Regions from separate parts of the Homo sapiens genome. Here region 2 is linked to region 1. Evidence: promoter capture Hi-C in human tissues and cell types (Jung and others, 2019). All regions are on one chromosome and are shown on one strand. Each heading gives the region's core, a stretch centred on a gene start or on the middle of the fragment in contact. The rest is flanking DNA. Distances are from core to core; before and after follow the strand shown.

Region 1 (7,757 bases), core at 5,185-7,684:
TTAACAGATTTGCCAGGATTAACTTATAAAGACAAAATTTCTGTATAGTTGCAATAACAAACTAGTAAAAATAATTAAAACTTAAGAAACTATTCTCAATATTATAAAGAAAAAACTATAGTTAAATACCTAGGAATTACATAAGATCTCTATGGACAAAACTTGAAGGACATAGACTATGTCTGATAGAGATACAGTCCAGCTGGGCACGATGGCTCATGCCTGTAATCCCAGCACTTTGGGAGGCCGAGGTGGACAGATCATGAGGTCAGGAGTTCGAGACCAGCCTGGCCAATATGGTGAAATCCCGCCTCTATTAAAAATACAAAAATTAGCCGGGCATGGTGGTGGGCGCCTGTAGTCCCAGCTACTCGGGAGGCTGAGGCAGGAGAATTGCTTGAATCCAGGAGGCAGAGGTTGCAGTGAGCCAAGATTGTGCCACACTGACTCCAGCCTGGGCAACAGAGTGAGACTCCATCTCAAAAAAAAAAAAAAAAAAAAAAGAGATATATTCCATGCACTTGGGTGGGATGACATAATATTACAAAGATGTCAATTCCCTGAATTAATCTATAAGTTTAATGTATCATTGTCAAAATTCCAGCTGGACTATTTGAGGAACTTGATAAAATTACTCTAAAATAAAAAGAAGCAATGAAGGATCACAAATAGCTAAATCTATCTCCTAAAAAAGGAGACTTGCCAAACAGAAGCCATAGTAATAAATAGAAGCAGTGTGGTACTGTTGCAAGAATAGACAAATAGAAGACTGGAACAGAAGAGCAAGGTTGAAATCAGAACTTTGGTAGTTAATACATAAGAAAGGTAGCACCACAAATCAATGAGGGGAAGCATAGAATGTTTAGTAGGTATTGTTGGAAAATCTAGCATACATTTTTAAAGGGGAAAACAACAACAACAAGAAAGTGAATCCTGGATTACTGTTTAACGTCATGTACAAAAATTGAGTCTTAATAGATTAAACATCAAAATGTGAAAGGTAAACTATAAAGTTAATATAAGAAAACAGAAAATACAGTATGTTTGAATCTGGGGACTAGGAAAACTGTTCATTTGTTTGTTTATTTTGAGACAGGGTTCTGTTACCCAAGCTGCAGTGCAGTGGCACAAACATCGCTCACTGCAGACCCCACCTCCTGGGCTCAAGCAATCCTACCTTAGCCTCCCAAGTAGCTGGGACCACAGGCATGAGCCACCATACCCAGCTAATTTTGGGAAGACTTACTAAAATGTTAAAAACACAACACAAATATAAGGCAAAAATGATTGATTTACATCGAAGTTAGGTTACTTCTATGAACGAAAGTACACCCTAATGGCCGGGTGCAGTGGTTCACGCCTGTAATCCCACCACTTTGGGAGGCCGAGGTGGGTGGTTCCCTTGAGCCCAGGAGTTTGAGACCAGCTTGGACAACATGGTGAAGCCTCATCTCTACAAAAAATGCAGAAATTAGCCAGGCGCTATGGTGCACGTTTGTAGTCCCAGCTACTTGGAAGGTTGAGGCAGGATTATCATTTGAGCTAGGGTGTATTAGTCCATTTTCATGCTACTGATAAAGACATACCTGAGACTGGGAAGAAAAAGAGGTTTACTTGGACTTACAATTCCACATGGCTGTGGAGGCCTCAGAATTCCACGTGGCTGGGGAGGCCTCAGAATCATGGCAGAGGCAAAAGGAACTTTTTCTTTTTTTTATTTTATACTTTAAGTTCTGGGATACATGTGTAGAACGTGCAGTCTTGTTACATAGCTAGTATACACATGCCATGGTGGTTTGCTGCACCCATCAACCCATCAGGTACATTAGGTATTTCTCCTAATGCTATCCCTCCCCTAGCCCCCCACCCCCCGACAGGCCCCGGTGTGTGATGTTCCCCTCCCTGTGTCCATGTGTTCTCATTGTTCAGCTCCCACTTATGAGTGACAACATGCGGTGTTTGGTTTTCCGTTCTTGTGTTAGTTTGCTGAGAATGATGGTTTCCAGCTTCATCCATGTCACTGCAGAGGACATGAACTCATCAAAAGGCACTTCTTACTTGGCAGCGGCAAGAGAAAATGAGGAAGATGCAAAAGCAGAAACCTCTAATAAAACTATCAGATCTCATGAGACTTATTCACTACCACAAGAACAGTATGGGGGAAACAGCCCCCATCATTCAAATTATCTCCCACTGGGTCCCTCCCATAACATGTGGGAATTATGGGAGTACAATTCAAGATGAGATTTGAGTGGGGACGCAGCCAAACCATATCATTCTTTCCCTGGCCCCTTCAAATCTCATGTCCTCACATTTCAAAACCAATCATGCCTTCCCAACAGTCCCCCAAAGTCTTAACTCATTTCAGCATTAACCCAAAAGTCCACACTGAGACAAGGCAAGTCCCTTTTGCCTATGAGCCAGTAAAATCAAAAGCAAGCTATTTACTTCCTGGATATGATTTGGGTACAGGTATTGGGTAAATACAGTCATTCCAAATGAGGGAAATTGGCCAAAACATAGGAGTTACAGGGCCCATGCAAGTCCAATGTCCAGCGAGGCTGTCAAATCTTACAGCTTCAAAATGATCTCCTTTGACTCCAAGGTCTCACATCCAGGTCACGCTGATGCAAGACGTGTGTTCCCATGGTCTTGGGAAGCTCTACCCCTGTGGCTTTGCAGGGTACAGCCTCCCTCCCAGCTGCTTTCACAGGCTGGTATTGAGTGTCTGTGGCTTTTCCAGGTGAATTGTGCAAGCTGTTGGTGGATCTACCATTCTGGGGTCTGGAGAACAGTGGCCCTCTTCTCACAGCTCCACTAGGTGGTGCCCCAGTAGGGACACTGTATGGGGGCTCCCAACCCCACATTTCCCTTCTTCACTGCCCTTGCACAGGTTCTCCATGAGGGCCCCACTCCTGCAACAAACTTCTGCCTGGGCATCCAAGTGTTTCCACATGTCTTCTGAAATCTAGGTGGAGGTTCCTAAACCCCAGTTCTTGACTCTGTGTACTTGCAGGCTCAACACCATGTGGAAGCTGCCAAGGCTTGGGGATTGCATCCCCTGAAGCCACAGCCCTATCTCTATGTTGGCCCCTTACAGCCATGGCTGGAGCAGCTGGGACGCAGGGCACCAAGTCCCTAGGCTGCACACAGCATGGGGACCCTGGGCCTAGCGCATGACACCATTTTCTCCTAGGCCTCGGGGCCTGTGATGGGAGAGGCTGCCGTGAAGCCCTCTGACATGGCCTGGAGACATTTTTTCCATGGTCTGGGGGATTAACATTTGGCTCCCCATTACTTGTGCAAATTTCTGCAGCCAACTTGAATTTCTCCTCAGAAAATGGGTTTTCCATTTCTATCGCATTATCAGGCTGCAAATTTTCCAAACTTTTATGCTATTCTTCCCTTATAATACTGAATGCCTTTAACAGCACCCAAGTCACATCTTGAATGATTTGTTGCTTAGAATTTTTTTCTGCCAGATACCCTAAATCACCTCTCTCAAGTTCAAAGTTCCACAAATGTCTAGGGCAGGGGCCAAATGCCCCCAGTCTCTTTGCTAAAACATAACAAGAGTCACTTTTGCTTCAGTTGCCAATAAGTTCCTCATCTCCACCTAAGACCACTTCAGCCTGGACCTTATTGTCCATGTGGCTATCAGGCTTTTGGCCAAAGCCATTCAACAAGTCCCTAGGAAGTTCCAAAGTTTCCCACATTTTCCTGTCTTCTGAGCCCTCCAAATTGTTCCAACCTCTCCCTGTTACCCAGTTCCAAAGTCGCTTCCACATTTTCGGATATCTTTTCAGCAACACCCACTCTACTGATACCAATTTACTGTATTAGCTCATTTTCATGTTGCTGATAAAGACACACCCAAGACTGGAAAGGAAAAAAGGTTTAATTGGACTTGCAGTTCCACAGGGAGGGGAGGCCTCGGAATCATGCCAGGAGGCAAAAGGCACTTCTTACATGTGGCAGAAAGAGAAAACAAGAAGATACAAAAGCGGAAACCCCTGATAAAACCATCAGATCTTGTGAGACTTATTCACTACCATGAGAACAGTATGGGGGAAACCACCCCCAAGACTCAAATTATTTCCCACCAGGTCCCTCCCACAACACATGGGAATTATGGGAGTACAATTCAAGATGAGATTTGGGTGGGGACACAGCCAAACCATATCACTGGGTAAGCAGAGGTTGCTGTGGGCCGAGATTGTGCTAGTGCACTCCAGAGCCTGGGTGACGGGTAAAACCCTGTCAAAAACAAAACAAAACAAAAAACACCCAAAAAACCCCAAAACAAAACAAAATCCTGGGCAAAGTTCATAAAAATACCATAAAGAGAGAAGATTTTTGTAGTGTCTTAGAATTAATTTATTAACTAACCAGAATACACAAAATTCCTAAAAAAAAGACAAAAATCCTGATAGAATATGGGGTAAAGCATTATGAGCAGATGATTTTTAGTAAAGATAGAAAATCTTATAAGCATATACAGACATGCTCAGACTCATCAGTAATCTGAAAAATTCAATAGTGAGATAACACTTTACATCTGTTATGTTGGGGGAAAACAAGAACCCTTGATAATGCCAAGCCTGGGAAGAATGTGGGGCCATAGTAACCTTCGAATATTGGGAGCATAGACTGGTATGGCATTCTGGATAGCAACTTGGAATTATATGGTCAAACTGAGAATACTCATACTCCATGACAACAATTTATCTTCTGTTCATCACAGACTATATGTAAAATTAAAATACAAACACAAAGTGGAAAGGATATTTGCAACATATAGAGTAGACATATAATTATTATCCAGAGTATATAAAGAACTGAGAGAGAGACCAACAGAAAAGGGGGCAAGATAACTACTTGGCAGTTCAATAAGAGATAATGGAAAGGCTAACAAAACCAAAGGTACTCAACCTCAACAGTACCCAGAGATTCAAGATAAAACCACAATGAAATACCTAAAATACACACATCCAAATATACAAAAGTTAAAAATCCAAACACAAATGTTGCTGATGATGTGGAAAAATAAGAACTCTTATACATAAGCACCAGAAACATAAATAGGTACACTACTTTGGAAAATGGTGTGGTCTTACTTTTTAAAGACCCACATGTGCAAAACCCTAATACCCAGCTAACCCACTCCTACGCTAGTACATGTGCATTAATAGACACAGACTTGTACTACAATGTTCACAACATTGTTAATAATAGCTAAAAATGAAAACAGTGTAAGTGATCATTGATAGTAGGAAGGATAAATCAATCTATATTGGAATACTGTCCAGCAATGGAAAAAACTTCAGCTACACAGCATCACCGGTGGCATAATATTAAGTGGGAGAAGCAAATCACAGAAGAATACATACAGTATTAATACCATTTATATACTATCAATACCGGAAAACATTAAACAATATCTTGTTTAGAAATGCATACATGAATGGCAAAAGGAAGAGAATTATTGTACAAAAGTCAGGGTAGTGGTTACTCCAGGGCGAGAAAGGCAATGTAATCGTTGGGGGCATTTTTCAGGTGCTGGTAATGTTTTATTTCTTAACCGGGTGCTAGTTGTACAGGTACTGTTCACATTATTATTAAGATAAACGTGTTTTATACACTTCTGCATGTATAATGTATTTTGCAATACAAATGATTTTTAACATGATTGGATTGGGCAATCTCTTAGGTTCTTTTTATCTTTGATGGTCTATTGTCAGGCCCTTCACAGCTGGACTTATTGTTGGCACCTCATTGACAGTTCCACTTAAGCAATATGCATTAAGACGCATACATGGGTGAATTAGACAGGAAAATTTGAAGGGAAAAGGGAACGCGCTAACAAAGGGAATCACAGAATAGGAGACTAGGAGTATGGACCATCTGATGCAAGCCCCTCTCCTCAGGGAGGCAACTGGGGTTTAACTTGAGAGCTCCTGGGTTCCAGTCCTGGTTCCGACTTTGATTTGGGCAAGTCTCTTCCCTAATTCCCAGTATCCTTATGCTGGCTTTGTAAACCGTGCCGTGAAATTTAAATAGGAGGACTAACAATAATTATTATTCTTTTACAATTGGGAAAACTGAGGCCACAGTGGGTCGCCACTAGCCCAAGGTGCCATCACCACGTTGTAACTCAGGGGTTCCCTCCGACGGCCTTACAGGAACTCCAACTCCCTGAACAGAGCACCGTCCCATTATACAAACAGCAGCTCCCTTTCGTCCGGCTTTGGGCGCAGTTTGACGTCACAGAAGAGCTGCCTTGCCTCACCCCGCCCCTTCGGAAGCCCCGCCCCCTGCCCGACTCCGCCTCGCTCGGCGTTCGTCAAGCTCCGCCTCCAGCGCTCGTCCCAGCGCGGGTAGCCCTGGAGTGCCCCGCGCGGCCTCTCTTCCGGCCCCGCCCCTCCTGGCTGCCATGACAACGAGTCTGCGCCCCGCGCTCAGCTGCTTCTCCGGCGGAACCCAGGCTGGACCGCGGGCCCCGGCCTGGGGGCCACTGCTGCCACCGCCGCCGCCACCTCGTCTCCTCCCCGTCCCCGCCCAGCCCCAGGTCTCCCCGCCTCACTCGGGCCCGTGGCCGGGGTCACTCCCCGCCGCCCCTCCCCGCACGGATGCCGAAGGTGAAGGCGCTGCAGTGCGCCCTGGCGCTGGAGATCAGCTCAGTGAGTACCGGTAGCGCCTCCCACCCCCGGGCATTGGCTCAGGGACTCCCTCAGTCACCTCCGAGAGCCCGGAACCACCCCCAAACCTCCTTCACCCTCCGAATCATCCCTAGGGAGCGTCGACCTCACGCCCCTTCGGTCCTGCCCCATCTTGTTCTCAGAAGCGCTCTCCCACTCCGGCCACGCAGAGGCCTGACCCCTGCTCCGCTATGCTGGCTTCAACCCGACTTCCAACTTGCGCGCTTTCAGATCGTTCCCAAATCACTTCAGAGTTCTTTCCTCGCTCCTAACTTTCCAGTGAGAGAGAGTGTATGTGCGCGGCGCGGGGGCTTTTCATTCCTCTTTCGGGCTCCAGTTCTCTTAGAGAATTATTGCCCCCGCCTTTCCCAAGTCTGGGGGTGGGCGTCGCATTTCCTCCCGAATCCCTGCAGGCACACCATTTCAGACCAGTTTCAAACCCGCATTAATGAAGGGGCCTTTCTTTATTCTGTCTTCGAAGGAGAATCTTCACATCCAACAACTGAAATGTGTCATTGCGCAAAGTACCTTGCCTTCCCTCCCAGGGCCTTACAGGAAAAACCCAACTCCTCAGAAATCACTTCAGGCCCCTCCCGTCCCCAGACCCTTCCGACTTTGTGCCAGCCATTGCAAGAAAGGCCCAGTCATTTTTATGAGGGAAACACCTCCTTCTCCAACCTTGCAACCCCACCCCTTCACTCTCCAGACTTGCTCAAGAGGATGCTTTCCTCCATCCTCCTGTGGAAGTCCAGCTGGGGCAGAGAACCCCACTCATCCAGTGAAGGGGCTGGACCTCTCCATGCTAGGAGAAAACTCTATTCCCCTTGTTGATCTCAGAAGACTTCCAAGGGTTTTGAACTTCTTCCCCTGCATTCTTTAGAGAACCCTCTCATTCCCCTGTTTAGAGGAATACTCCCGCTTGTCTGTTCTGGAGGAAATCTCCACAAGACCCTTTCCACACCCCGTTTTAGTCCTGCAGGCACAGACCTGTACGGAGTTTGGAACCAAAATTCACCATTCGGTCTCTTCGCTCCTTCTTACTCAGTAAGTCTTCTTATG
Region 2 (7,757 bases), core at 3,495-5,994, 58 kb before region 1:
CAGCAGGGTGAGGAGCGATGAAATGTACAAAGTGCTACAAAGGCCTGGGGATGGGGGAGGCTTATTTTGTGGGAGTTTGTCTTCCAAAAAGAGGTGAGACTAGAGAGGTAGGGAAGGAAACAGCCTCTGCAGAGGCCTAAAGGTATGGGATGTTTTGCCTTCCAGTGGCTCCTTGCTCTCTCGTGTCCCCATCTTTGGTTGATGGCTTTTTGCCTTCCTAGCCCACCCTCCCTAAGTCCTTCTGCACATTCACTGTCCTCTCTAGCCTCTGCACAACTTATCCCCTTGCCACTATCCCCCCATGGCTGCCCCAGCTATGACCAAATCTGGGCTTCCCTCTTCTTTTTCCCCATAAAAACATACTTACGTCCTATGCTCCGTTTGGGTGTTAAAAACAACATCCTTCAATGACAGATGAATAGCACCTCTTCAACTTCCATTTACTAGAGCCTAAGAGGCAGGAAGGACATGAATTTTTCTCCTATTTTAGAAATAAAGAAATAGAAGTCCAGAGAAGGTAAGGAACTGCTTCAAGATGACATTGCCCGTAAGTAACATACCATGCATGTGCTCCAGGGCTGTATCTCACCTATTCTGGCAGCCTTGTTATGTTAGCAAGGCTCTTCAATGAATGTGGATTTTCAGGCAGTGAGGCTTCCTGGTGGAGGGGGCAGTATGTTAGGGCAAAGTGTCCCTTTATGTGCTGCCACCTATTCTGTCTTTACCTTATTCATGACTCATCAACAGTAAAGAAAAATGGGTGTACCAAGGTCAGAGCTTGATGGGTTACAAAAGCCACATCTTCAATTTGAATTCAAACTTAGTTCAAGAGATTCTCATATTTATGACACTAACCACTTCCTGACACATATTATAGTTATTGTTTTGTGTAGTTATTTTATACAATTATCCCCTCTCCTAAGCTATAAGCAACTTGAAGACAGTATCAATGTCTGCTCATTTTTGTCACCTTTAGTGTCTGTGGGAAGAAGACTAGGTTACTGTTCCTGGGAGGCTACAGTCCAGTGGGGAAGATAGACATGCACACAAATGATTTCATCACAGTGTGTATATGGGCTGTCTTCTCTCTTTCTGTTATCTCCCCCTTTGCAGGAAAGAAAAATCCCCTCCTTACAAGCACCCACTCCTGCGGGGCCCAGCCAGCAACTACCCCAACAGCAAAGGGGACAAGAAGAGCTCAGTGAACCACAAAGACCCTTCAACCCCTTTTTAAAGACACGGAGTCCTGGGAGGTCTTATGGGGACAGGAGCATGCATTTTCTGCTGGGGAATGAAATTAATCACTCTTCTCTAGCTTCCAAGGATTTGTGGATTAATGCATAGGCTAGTGAAAGGGAAGGGATACAATGAGAAACTTCATCACTGATTTTCCCTTTTTCCAATGGAAAATCAATTGTAAGCCTTCAGCTCAAAAAGCTCAGGAACAAAATAGGAGATCGGAACCAGGTGAGCACAGATGCTATTTTCTACAACATAGAGATCTTCCAAGATGAGGAAAACCTACACATCCCTTTTAAGAGATTTGACACATATCAGGTCAGTTCTTTCAAAGCCACTTTACATTTTTAAGTTTTATAGTTACTGCAGATGGTTACCTTTTAAATAGGCTTGGTTGTTTACAGCTTTAGAAATGCAGTGTTTGTATTTTCTGATCCAAAACAACAGCAACAACACATGCAACCAAAGGGCAAATGCATCCTAGGGAACAATGGGACAGAATTTTTGAAATCAACGGTGGACTTAAATATATGGTCACTGTATCTAAGCTGCATGCTTGCTGATTCCCTCAAACCCCAGCATGCAGATTTAGAAAACTGTTTTGAGAGCTGTTTCCCAATTTCCTCGGTAGTTTAATTAAAATTTTAGCTCTAAAGACAAAAAGCACTGGTCACTCATTTTAAAAGGTTTATTATGGTTAAGGTCTCCAGATCCCAGGTGACAGGGATTAAGCCTGGCCCCTGAAGATGTAGGCATTGCTAATCTGCAATGAGGAAAGGGTGATTGCCAGGCAAGGAAGATGCAAAAGACAGAAGGATGCACCCTGAGGCAGGGAGGAATGATAAAATAAAACAGTAGTAGCAATTCCCAAGGTGTGGCAAGCTAAATATTGGCATTTTTGTGAAGAGTAAAGTGCCTTTGTATGATGAATGGGTCCAGGGGGGTCTGCTCCCTTCCTGTCTGTGGAAACAGCAGGCTGAGTCACCATGACAGCCTGCTAATTAAAATGACCTCCCGGAAATGAGGATTAGAACACAGGGAGAGGAAGGGAGGCTCCAGGGAGGAAAATCCCTTAGCACAGAGCTCCACTAAAGCATTTTTTGTTTGTTTGTTTGTTTGTTTGTTTGTTTGAGTTGGAGATTATTGAAGTTTGCTACAAAAATCAAAAAGAAAACTTGTTCTCCTTTGCATGCTAGTTTTCAGAAATGATGACAAAGAGCCATATGTTGATTGGCTACAAATGTCATGTTGTATATACAGCTTCTCCCCTGGGTTCGTTTTGCCCAGAGGAACACAAATAAAGTGTTTTGTGCAGCTCCTCTGTTCCTCTGAGCATTCTTGGCACCTTTCCCTTTCAGTCCCCACTACTCAAGAACCAACAGGCAAACCCCAAAACTGATATAACCCTGACTTTGAGGTCAGGGACTTTGTTTTCAAAATAAGGGACAACAGTCAAGTCTTGATTTCCAGCAGTTCCCGTGTCAAAGTCCTGGGGAGTTTAATTGACTGCAACCAGCTTGGCATGCACCAAGAGTGTATCAGCCTTTTGGAAATGATAGCATCATTTTAGATAGCATGAAAAGAGGCAGATTGCATAAGATGAGAGAGGCAATAGTCTAGATCCATGTTTCCTTGGCCAGGTCACTTCCATAATGTGATCACATATTGGCCCATATAGTTAAAACTACATTGATTAATTGGATCATAGACTACACAAACAGCAGGTATAATGATTATTTAAGAGCAAAAACTTGGAGCCAGGCAACTTTGGGTTCTAATTCTGCATTCAAACCCTACTTCTATTTCTTTAATAAAACTGTGTGATCTTAGGCAAGTTATTTAACATCTCTAGATCTTAGTTTCCTCACCTGAAAGATGGTCATAGTAATATCTACCTTGTTATAATAGTTATGAAAGTTTAATGAACTTACGTGTGGAAAATGTAGGCAAAAATATTTATGTGCTCACTAAATGGTAGCTGTGATCATTTGGAATATGACTAGGAAAGTGAGGTATCTGCAAATCCTTCCCCATTAGAAAGGAATGAGGAGACTGGAGCAGTTTATTGTTTAAAATAAAAAATAGGCCGGGTGCGGTGGCTCACACCTGTAATCCCAACACTTTGGGAAGCTGAGGCGGGAGAATCACCTGAGGTCAGGAGTTCGAGACCAGCCTGGCCAACATGGAGAAAGCCCGTCTCTACTAAAAATACAAAAATTAGCCAGGCGTGGTGGCACGCACCTGTAATCCCAGCTACTCAGGAGGCTGGGGCAGGAGAATTGCTTGAACCTGGGAGGTGAAGGTTGCAGTGAGCCAATGAGCCATGATCATGCCACCGCACTCCAGCCTGGGTGACAGAGTGAGACTCTGGCTGAAATAAATAAATACATACATACATACATACATACATAATAAGAGGGAGTGGGAATAGGAAAGAAAGATCACAGTCTCCAAAAAGCTAAACAGACATCATTGGACAAAAGAAGCAAACTTGTTCTGTGCTGCCAAACAAGTTTATTACCTCTCCTGGATTTGGAGAGGTAATAACCAAATCCAGGGAGTGAGTCTCAGTAAGACAGATTTCTGCTCAGGATGAGGAAAACCTTCTAGTGAATTGAATTGCCAACCACTGGATGGGTTCCTTTGGAAGACCATGAACTCCCCATCACCACAGGTGTGCAAGAAGAATCTGAACGAACATCTGTCTGGGAGGAAATAGAGGGGACTCCCTCTCTAGGGGGATGCTGGGTTGGAAGCTGAATGCTCCGAAGCATCACCTCATGTCATTTCTCTGGACTGAAATGACATGGGACAGGATGTTACATTTCTGGATGTCAGCAAATGGAGTGTACAGTATAGTTAGTACTTAATGCTAGACACAGTGATATGAACTGTCTCTGAATTACAGCATATATGGACTCTGATAAAATTTCCCATTCCTTGAGAGAGAGAGAGAGAGAAAAAAAAAAGCTGGCTATAAGGCAGCCTGTAGGAGGGTGTGTTTGCAAGATGACTGTCTGCTTTTCCACATTGGCAGAGCAGAAAAAAAGGACTGAGCAAGAGCCCAGGGGTTGTCAGCAGCCCTCTGTGTGGTCTTGGCCTGCTTAGCTTCTCCTTAGCTTTCTTGAACAAGGTTATACCTATGACCTCAAGCTAGAGGGGAAAGGTTTTCAGCACTGAGATGGAGGACAGCACCAAGAGGTGTACAACCCGCCAGAGGCTACTAGCCCACCTGGCTCCAGCAGGGGGCGCACCAGCCTATCTTCTTGTCCAGCCAGGTCTGTCTCAGATTAGAGCCACAGGTGGGTGGAGCTGGCCACCAAAGCAGTGTTCTGTGCATTTCCAAGGAGACAGACAACTATGCAAAAAGTAGGGGTGAGAAGGAGAGGGATCATGACAGGTCTCAACCTGGCTCTCACACAACTCTCCATACTGATGCAGTGCTAGTTTTGCTCTGTATCAGTTCAGAGGTGCAGAGACAGGACTAAAAGTCTGTTTACCCTCAAGCTGCAGCAGACAAACTGGAGGTTACCCAGTTTCTTCGTTGCTAAGCCCCCAGCAGAGGAGGTTGGTGATAATGTTTGCTTTGCGGCAGCCAACAGTGAGCCTTTGTCTAGAAGCTTTTTCTATTGCCTTTTAAATGGAGGCGGGGCGGTAAACACAGAAAGAACTAGTATCCTTTCACTGTAACTCAACTGACACACCTGAGACCTGCCTTAGAGAACCCAACTCATTTTTCTACATAGTAAGAACAGAGCCAACTATGGAAGTGTAAGCTGATTAACATTTGTGCAGCATCGATTCATACATCCAGATGTTTACTGAACATATACTGTGTGTCAGGTGTAGTTCTAGATCCCTTTGTATCCATTGCCTTATTCAATGTTCCCAACAGTCCTATCAGGTAAGTATCATTTTCTACACTTCGAAGATGAGAAAAAATGAGAACCCTAAAGGTAAACACCTTTTTTTTACACCCATGTGGCTAGTGAGAACCTGGATTCAAACACTGCTCCCCTTCCACTACTTTGTGCTGGGCCTTATCCATTTGTCTCCAGGTAAAATCAGGTCAAAAAAAGAAACAGGTTAAAGCAGAATAACAAGTAAACAATGGCATCATTTAGAGGTAGTGGGGGATAGGGAGAGGGGAAGGAAGCATGTTAAGTTTACAGGCTGGGAAAAATGTGTAATGATTTCAGGACTTTTTAGCACTTGCTGCTGAAGCCCTGCCTTCTTCCTATCTCTCATTCCCACACACCTGTCTGACCTTCTTCTAGGCACTCCAGAGTCCTCCAGAGAGCAGCGTTTAGGCAAGGGGCCCATTTATCCCTTGACATGCAGAGGGCCCCTGGAATCTCAGCAGGGTTGTTGGACCCATCGTGACACTCTCTGGGTTACTGGCCCCAAGCAGATAATCTAGCTCTGGTTCCCTATCACTTCCTCCATCTGGGGTATGCGAAATAAGCCTACTATGTCCCTCATTTCTTGTTCGGAATTCTTCCTCTAAGTTCCTGCCTTCTGAGCACTAAAGAAGTCTGGTACCTTTTGGCTGAGCTCAGCCAAAGGGGCATCAGGGCCACAAAGCAGAGGGGAGACATAACGTAATAGGAACAGCCCGAGTTTAAAGTCAGGCCAACCTGAGTGTGAATCCCAGCTCTTCTGTTAAGCTGTATGGCTTTGGGCAAATAATGTAATCTCTTTAAGTCTCGGGATCCTCATCTGTAAAATGAACTGAATAATATCTACTTCCTATATTTATGGTGAGAATTGAATATAATAACATCTATAAAATACCTGGAACTGAGAAAAACTCTTTTCTCAAGCCATCTTCACCCCTGCTCTGCCTCTCATCTGCTTGCTAGAGTTGGAAATCCCTTCTCTAGAGCCAAAGCTTTTCTTCTCCCCAGATGACGTACAGACAGAAGTACAAATGCTTCTTGAGTAGAGGACAAGAGTGAGAGGAGTGTCCAGAAGAAAGGCAGTCACACTGAGGGATCAGTGTCAAGCCAGGGACCTAGGTTTTATTCATCTCTGTAGTCTTAGCACTTAACACAGATTACGTAGCAGAGTCTGTGCTCACTGAGTGTGGAATGAATAAATAGTGGGTATGGTGAGAGTGAGGTCACCCAAAAACCCTGAACCCTTGAGGGAGGGGAAAGAGGCTTTGGAAGTTGGGACTCTGAACAAATGGGAAGACAGTGTTGAACATGATATTCACCCAGCCTCATGTGAGGCTGAAATAACTAGACTAAAAAGAGAAGGGGGAAATAGATTCTACAAGATACCATGTTTTGTCAAAATCATAGCAAACAAATCTTACCAGGATACATACAAAACTTTTTTTATGTTACTTTGATTGGCATGCAACATCTCAGGGATCATCTTTATGAAGTAATCATACAGATCTTCTCTGCCAGCTGAAATTCAGGACTCCCCCAAGGCACTCACATATCTGTCTTCATACACCAAATTCAGGTGGTGTGCTGGTCAGGGCTTATTTTCTCAACTTTGCAGATGAAGAAATTCAGATTAGTGTGATTAATCTCATGCCCGTGGTCCACAGCCAGTAAGTAACTAGGACAGGATGTGGACCCTGGATACAAACACAACTCTACCACACCTCTCTGTCTCTCGGTTCAGCCCCAGACCTCGACACTAAGCCCGAACAAGTCAGAAAGTCATCCTAATGATGCCTATTATAACTCCTTAGTGCTTAAAATTTACTTGTTCCCCTAAAGACCTGGGATCTATTTTTAGCTGACCCCATGTCAATCTTAAGTCCAAATCTGCTTCTCTCCCTGGCATCAGCTGCCTTGGTTAATATTCTCTTTTTCCATCTAATTGCTCAGGTTGGAAGCCCTGCCCTTGCCTTAACTCCTTTATGTCTTTCTCCCCACACAGCTGACCAACCACCACGTCCCATTGCTTCTGCCTCTTTGGTGTGTCTGCCTTCAGGTAGTATTATGGAGTGACTCTGAGTCAGATAGACCTGAATTTTAATTTCAGCTCCACCGCTTGCTAATCATCTTATAAATCATTTAGAGCAGTTTACTTGCCCCATCTCTAAAATGGGACAATAATGCCTATTGGCAGGTTTGTTGTGCATTTCCCTCCCTCTATCCTTTCCATGCTTTCCCTCCTAGCCACTCCCACCATTATTTCCTACCTGGATTGCTGGAATGGCCTCCCTGTCTCCAGATGCTCTCCTGTTAACCCATTCCCTGCTTAGAAGCTTCCAGGAGCTCCATAAAACATGACCCCATTTTATGGTACTTCTTTCAAATTAACTGTCCAAGCCAGGAGCCTGGATATCATCCGACTTTTGTGTCTTTCACGCCCCATTTCTGTTCAATTGCCAAATCCCACTGGTTATTCCTGCTTGTTCTCTCTAATTTCCAGCCAACATCTCTGTTCCTCTTAACTAAGAAAATCCTTCTCATCATTCAAGACTTAGCTCATGTGTCCCAACTTCATGATATCCTCCCAGTCTTAGCAGTTGTCATTAATTGCTTTCTTTT

What was found. Contacts are between HindIII fragments. The study calls those that stand out against the background at their distance.
Region 2: a fragment that was not itself captured here is called in contact with the fragment with the promoter of SPATA6 in region 1 in 1 of the 25 tissues and cell types used here (mesendoderm cells).

The regions. Positions count from the first base shown.
Region 1 is chr1:48,470,881-48,478,637 of GRCh38, reverse strand. It overlaps SPATA6 (spermatogenesis associated 6), which reads left to right and starts at 6,434. Exons shown (of 13, transcript NM_019073.4): 1 at 6,434-6,680. The coding sequence starts at 6,630. LOC124904175 (a long non-coding RNA gene) reads right to left here. Exons shown (of 2, transcript XR_007066074.1): 1 at 7,686-7,757. RefSeq lists an enhancer at 6,103-6,152 and a silencer at 6,363-6,752. The HindIII fragment of the contact is 25,705 bases long and covers 1-7,757 here.
Region 2 is chr1:48,527,650-48,535,406 of GRCh38, reverse strand. It overlaps AGBL4 (AGBL carboxypeptidase 4), which reads left to right. Exons shown (of 14, transcript NM_032785.4): 13 at 491-517; 14 at 1,114-2,553. The coding sequence ends at 1,234. Among named protein-coding and RNA genes, the nearest start is that of SPATA6, 59 kb to the right of the region's middle. The HindIII fragment of the contact is 7,029 bases long and covers 1,230-7,757 here.